Regions from separate parts of the Homo sapiens genome. Here region 2 is linked to region 1. The links are contacts of gene promoters, found by promoter capture Hi-C in blood cells and fetal thymus (Javierre and others, 2016). All regions are on one chromosome and are shown on one strand. The core of a region is centred on a gene start or on the middle of the fragment in contact, and the rest is flanking DNA. Distances in the headings are between cores, read along the strand shown.

Region 1 (3,124 bases), core at 298-2,797:
CCCTGGTGACTTACAAGGTACTTGAATTTTTTTTTTTCTAGCAAACTGCTAAAGTTAGCCTTTGCCTTTTTCCCAGAGACTCTCTAGGAATTTTTCCCATCTGCTGACTAGGAGGTAAGCCCGGACCTAAATTTTTGTCTTGTTGTAGGTTAATTAAGACTGGTGTTAGATTCAGCTCCTAAGGCCTAAGAGAATTTAAGGTTGTCTTCTGGGAAGGACACCCAACAGCAGCATTGGAATTGGAAAAAAAGTGTAGGATTTTGCTGAGTGAGCAGGGGGAAAGCAATGTAAAGCCCAAGAGAATATCTTTTGAACAAACGTCCTTTTCATTTTGGTTTAGAAATAGAAACGTGGTAAAAGGAGGCGACTGTTTTCTGAAGGCTTGTAGCACGAAAACAGGCCAACTGGCCAGCAACTAGTTGTCTATCAGTTTCTCTACTCACATACATCTGCCTTTTCCAGACTGCCAGCGCGGAGCACTAGTTTGACTTTGGGTGCTCTTCAAATAGCTGGCATTGATAAGGCATTCCCAGAAGACTGTGTTACTTAGTAATCTTGTCGGTACATTTTTTCACTGGGCAGAGATTTTCCAAACAGAGAGCTGCCAGCTTTCAAGACGTCAGAGTGCTTTTTCATCCTGAAATTGGGTGGGAAAATGGGGAGAAGAAAAGCACGGTTCAGATCAATCAATGAGAGAGAACCCCTCCCTCCATACTCGTTAAACAACAGGTGGTTTTGCTGTGCACCGTCAACTCCTTTATGCGGGAGCTGTAGGCGGGGCATTCCAACTGAGTCTCCCTGGAATCTGCCCCTTAGCCCGTATTGCAGGGGCGGTGCAGTTGGGGATTCCGGCCTGAAAGGAGACTTGGTTGTCAAGGGGCTCAAGGGCTTCATGATCCAAGGATATTGGGTTTTGCTTTTCTCCTTCTCCATCTTCCTCATTCTATCCCACCGTCCCCTCCCCACCCTTCTCTTAGGAGGCCTTCGCTTCTCCTGTGGAGGGGTTATCTTCATCCTGACCCTGGCCTTCGGAGGAGTTCCCAGAAGGGCTATTTTTAGTGGTGGCTGCTCCCCTCTAACTTACCCAGGGGAGGAGCTGCGGTGGCTGAGCCGACGCTGCGCGCACAGCCGCCTGTGGTTTTCCGCGCATTGTGAGGGATGAGGGGTGGAGGTGGTATTAGACGCAGCCGAATCCTCCCTCAGAGTCCGCCAGGTGGGCGTCTCAGGGGTGGGAGTGGCCGCGTCGTGAAGCGGAGAGAGGATTTCTCTCCTGGTCCTGGAGAAGGCCCCCGGCGGCCGGCGGCATCCCTCGCTGGCGAGTCCCGGGAGCGAGGTGGTCTCTGCAGGGGAGGAAGTTCCCGGGCGGCGCGGCCTGCGTCACAGCGGGGCTGGCACCGCGGAGTCGACTCGGCGGGCGGTGGCGACCCCGGGGCCGGGCGCTGGGCGGCGCTGGCTGCCGCTAGCCGGGCTGCGTGCGGGGCGGCGCTGGAGGCGGCTCCGTCCGCGGCCGGGGAGGCGGAGGGGAGGAGGGCTTGCGGGGCTGGGGCGTTAGCTGCGTCCCGGCTGGAAGCCCGCGAAGAGAAGTAGGAGGAAGGCGCCGCCGTGGCCGCGGCCGCAGTGCTCGGGCGCGACAAGCCATGAGCAGCGACCCCGCGGGCGACGCCGCCGTCCCTGGCAGCCGCTGAGCCCGACCCCCAGGCAGCTCGCCGCTCCCTAGCACCTTCTCCAGTCGACACTCTCGCGCCCGGAGGTAAGGGCGGGGGATCCGCGGAGGGATGGAGAGGGGCAGCCCGCAGAGGGCCACCCGCTCGGTCCGCTGTGCGCGCCGGACCGGGACTCGCCCCGCCTCACTCGCGTCCTTGCTTCCCCCCGGCTCTCAGACAGGCAGAATGTGGTTGCCCGCCCGGCGTGTGGTGCTGGGAACCTTCCGCTACTGCGGCTCAGGAGCCCGCCAACCCCTACCCCACCCAATCCGCGCTAGCCCGAGCGGCCGCGCGAGGATCTCAGCCTGGCGCCCAACGCCGCGCCGCAGCGGCAGGTCCTGCAGACTGGGCGCGGGGGTGGGGGGGCGGTCCGCGAGGGGAAATGCGTCCGTGGCCGGGGCGATCGTTGTTCTTTCCTACCTCGAAAATCTCTGAGACCCCGGGGCCAGTCCTTTCCGGTCTATCACCCCCCTGCCACCTCCGAACCCTTGAAGTTAGCACTTTTGGGCAGGGAAAGGAATTGGAAGGTTTCTCGAAGAAACGTGAGAGCACCGTGTGCTCACCTGCAGGACAGGAGGGAAGGGGTTCAGCTTGATCGGGCGGGCCCCAGAAGCCAGGTGTTTAGGCCAGCGGTTGAGGCCAAAACCGCTGCCTTCATCCCACGCCTAGGCTCGCTGATCTTTCCCTTTCCAGCTGGTTCCCACCAATGAGATGATTAGGGATGGAGTTAGCAACTCAGGAGCCTTAGATGTGTTCTGTGGACACGAATGCCTTTCTTTTCTCCCTCAGCCGGTTCTTCCCTCCCCAACCCCCACGCCTGCCCGGTATACAGCAAAGTCCAAACAGTTTCTTCCAAACCTCGCATCCTCCGTAGTTTTGCAACAGCCGGACACCTAGCCCGCATCCTAATGCGGATATTTCAGAGTATTACGGCTAAACTTCCCTTGGTTTCAAATTCCTTAAACATGTTAAAGCCTCAGCAAACGTTAGGAAACATTTTCAGGTTCCCATCCTCAAAGTAAAAAATAAGAACCAATCCATCTTTGTTGGAGTGCCGGTGTTTGGCACGGGGAGGCTTGAATTACCTCCATTTAAAGCAGCCTTTGAAGGAAGGAATAGGTAAAGGAAATCGCAGCCGTTTGTAAGTCACATACTTCTTTCGCGGTAGTGTGAGAAACGTAGCCTTAACCAACAGTCACATTTCCCGACAGGTATGTGATGGTTTCCCAAAGCATCGATGAGGCTTCAGCGTGGGCAGGTCATTAAGATGCCATTTAGACGAAAAAGGAGTAAAAGTGGAGTAGTCCTCTTGGTTAGCACAATGCTGCAAAATCGCCAGAGCCAATAATTTTTATACATTTATAAATTCTGTTTATTTTTAAATAATTTGTTGAAAACCCAAAACGTAATCTGAGCTGCAT
Region 2 (3,139 bases), core at 277-2,776, 630 kb before region 1:
ATCCACAGGATGAATCCCACTTGATTGGTGTGCATTATTTTTCTATATTGCTGGATTTGATTTGTTAATAGTTTGTAGAGGATTTTTGCATCTATGTTTATGAGGGATAATGGTCTGTAGTTTACTTTTGTACTGTATTTGTTTAATTTTGTTATCAGGATGATGCTGTGCTCATAGAATGAATTGGGAAATGTTCCCTTTTATATTTTCTGAAAGAAATTATTAAGAATTGGAATTATTTAAAAAATGCTTAGTAAGGTTTGCCAGTCAAGAGGAACTATCTGGATGTGGAGATTTGTTTTTCAGATTCTTAACTTTTTTACTCCATTTCAGTTTCTTTAGAAATTATATGACAGTTCAGGTTATCTATTTTAACTTGGGTGAGTTTTAGTTGCTTGTTTGTGCTTTTTTCAGAAATTAGTCCATTTGAGTTGCAGAAGTTATACACATAGAGTTGTCAGAATGTTGAAATGTTGATTTTTAGTTTTACTATTTAATGCATCAAAGATTAAAAGTATTTCTTAAATCTTGATGTTTTTTAAAATTTTTTTGGTAGAAACACTTTATTTGGCTTTGTTGATTCTTGAGCCTGGTCATTTGTAAGACTGATTGGACAGGTTTCACTGAGGGATTTCTGCCTTTTTTTTTCTTTTTTTTTGTCAGGATCTCAGTGTTTGATGTGCTCCTTCCCTGTGGATCAGAGGAGCTTGTATTTCCTTTCACTAAACTCAGAGAAGGAAAACTAGCAACTTATTACTTAAACAAGAGAAGAAATACTTCTGTAAACTGAAAATATTTTTGGCACAGAGACACATACCATACAGGCCAGCAATTTTAGGCCTTAAGCTATGGTAGCTTCAGCAAACAGGAAATGAATAAGGGAAACCTGAAGCACCTTGTCATACAGATAGTGAGAAGGCTACAGGGTCATTCCAAAAGGATTCCAGAGCCAACTTATTCAGGCTCCCAATGGCCAGTACTCCTGGTTGTAGATCCAGGAACAATGCAAGAAAATCATAGCATTGCATTGCCATTTTCTTGTCATTGTTGCACTCAATGACACTCTCAGACCTACTATGTCAGAAAGTCAGAGGAAGGGTAGGGGCCAGGGAATCTTTATACTTAATAAGGTGATTTTAATGCATATCAGGATTGAGGAGCACTGGTGAAAGCAACATGCCTCCTTGGACAGTGAGCTTTATTTGATTCCTGGAGATATTAAAGAAAAGCACTAAATCAGAAGTCAGATGATATGGATTTGGGTCAGGACATTGATGCTACCAAACTAAGGAGGAAGTAACTTAATTTTGCTGAGTTTATAGTAGCCTTGAATGATCTTTTGTATTTCAGTGGTGTCAGGTTTAATACCTCCTGTTTTGTTTGTTAGTGAAGTTATTTGGATTTTCTCTCTTCTTTTCTTAGTTAATCTTGCTAATGGTCTATCAATGTTATTTTTCTTTTCAAAGAACCAGCTTTTTGTTTCATTTATCTTTTGTAGTTTTTTTCAATTTCATTTATTTCTCTGATCTTGGTTATTTCCTTTCTTCTGGTGGGTTTGGGTTTGGGTTTGGTTTGTTCTTGTTTCTCTAGTTCTTTGAGGTGTGAACTTAGATTGTCTGTTTGTGCACTTTCAGACTTTTTGATGTAGGTGTTTAGGGCTATGAACTTTCTTCTTAGCACTGCCTTTGCTGTATCCCAGAGGTTTTGATAGGTTGTGTCATTATTGTCATTCAGTTTGAAGAATTTTTTAATTTCCATCTTGATTTTGTTTTTGACCCAATGCTCATTCAGGAGCAGGTTATTTAATTTCCATGTATTTGCATGGTTTTGAAGATTCCCTTTGGAGTTGATTTCCAGTTTTATTCCACTGTGGTCCGATAGTGTGTTTGATATAATTTTAATTTTCTTAAATTTATTGAGGCTCATTTTATGGCCTATCATGTGGTCCATTTTGGAGAAAGTTCCATGCACGGTTGAATAGAATGTGTATTGTGAGGTTGTTGGAAGAAATTTTCTGTATGTATCTGTTAAGTCCATTTGTTCCAAAGTATAGTTAATCCATTGTTTATTTGTTGATTTTCTGTCTTAATGACCTGTCTAGTGTTGTCAGTGGAGTATTGAAGTCCTCCAGCATTATTGTATTGCAGTCTATCTCATTTCTTAGGTCTATTAGTAATTATTTTATAAATTTGGGAGCTCCAGTGTTAGGTGCATATATGTTTAGGATTGTGATATTTTCCTGTTGGACAAGCCTTTTATCATTATATAATGTCCCTCTTTGTCTCTTTTAACCACTGTTGCTTTAAAGTTTGTTTTGTCTGATATAAGAATAGTTACCTCTGGTCGCTTTTGGTGTCCATTTGCATGAAATGGCTTTTTCCACCCATTTACTTTAACTTTATGTGAGTCCTTATGTGTTCGGTGAGTCTCCTGAAGACAGTGGATAGTTGATTGGTGAGTTCTTATCTGTTCTGCAGTTCTGTATCTTTTAAGTGGAGCATTTAGGTGATTTACATTCAATGTTAGTATTGAAATGTGAGGTAATCCTTGCGTTCATCGTACTCTTTGTTGCCTGTGTACTTTGTTATTTTTTTGTTTTTGTTTTTTGCTTTTGCTTTTTACCTTGTATTTTTGTTTTGTAGGTCCTGTATGATTTATGCTTTAAAGAGGTTCTGTTTTGGTGTGTTTCCAGGCTTCGTTTCAAGATTTAGACCTCCTTTTAGCAGTTCTTATAGTGGTGGCTTGGTAATGGTGAATTCTCTCAGCAATTTTGTCTGAAAATGACTGTTTCTTTCCTTTACGTTTGATGCTTAGTTTTGCTGGAAACAGAATTCTTGGCTGATAATTGTTTTGTTTGAAGAGGCTAAAGATAGGGCCGCATTGCCTTCTGGCTTGTACGGTTTCTGCTGAGAAATCTGCTAGGTTAGTCTGATATGTTTTCCTTTATAGGTTACCTGGTGCTTCTGTCTCACAGCTCTTAAGATTTTTTTCCTTCATCTTAACTTTGGATAACCTGATGACAATGTGCCTAGGTGAAGATCTTTTTGTGATGAATTTCCCAGGTATTCTTTGTGCTTCTTATATTTGCATGTGTAGGTCTCTAGCTAGGTTGGGGAAGTTTTCCTCAATTATTCCCCCA

Evidence for each region. Contacts are between HindIII fragments. The CHiCAGO score rates a contact against its expected background, and 5 or more counts as called.
Region 2: a fragment that was not itself captured here is called in contact with the fragment with the promoter of LRRC8C in region 1 in 1 of 17 cell types (naive CD8 T cells); the score reaches 6.4 in naive CD8 T cells.

What each region holds. Positions count from the first base shown.
Region 1 is chr1:89,631,573-89,634,696 of GRCh38, forward strand. LRRC8C (leucine rich repeat containing 8 VRAC subunit C) reads left to right here and starts at 1,548. Exons shown (of 3, transcript NM_032270.5): 1 at 1,548-1,750. LRRC8C-DT (LRRC8C divergent transcript) reads right to left here and starts at 1,322. Exons shown (of 3, transcript NR_033981.1): 1 at 1,085-1,322; 2 at 444-637. RefSeq lists a silencer at 1,350-2,009 and enhancers at 2,390-2,439, 2,470-2,519. The HindIII fragment of the contact is 6,667 bases long and covers 1-3,124 here.
Region 2 is chr1:89,000,832-89,003,970 of GRCh38, forward strand. No RefSeq gene overlaps it. Among named protein-coding and RNA genes, the nearest start is that of RBMXL1, 9.8 kb to the left of the region's middle. The HindIII fragment of the contact is 3,251 bases long and covers 1-3,139 here.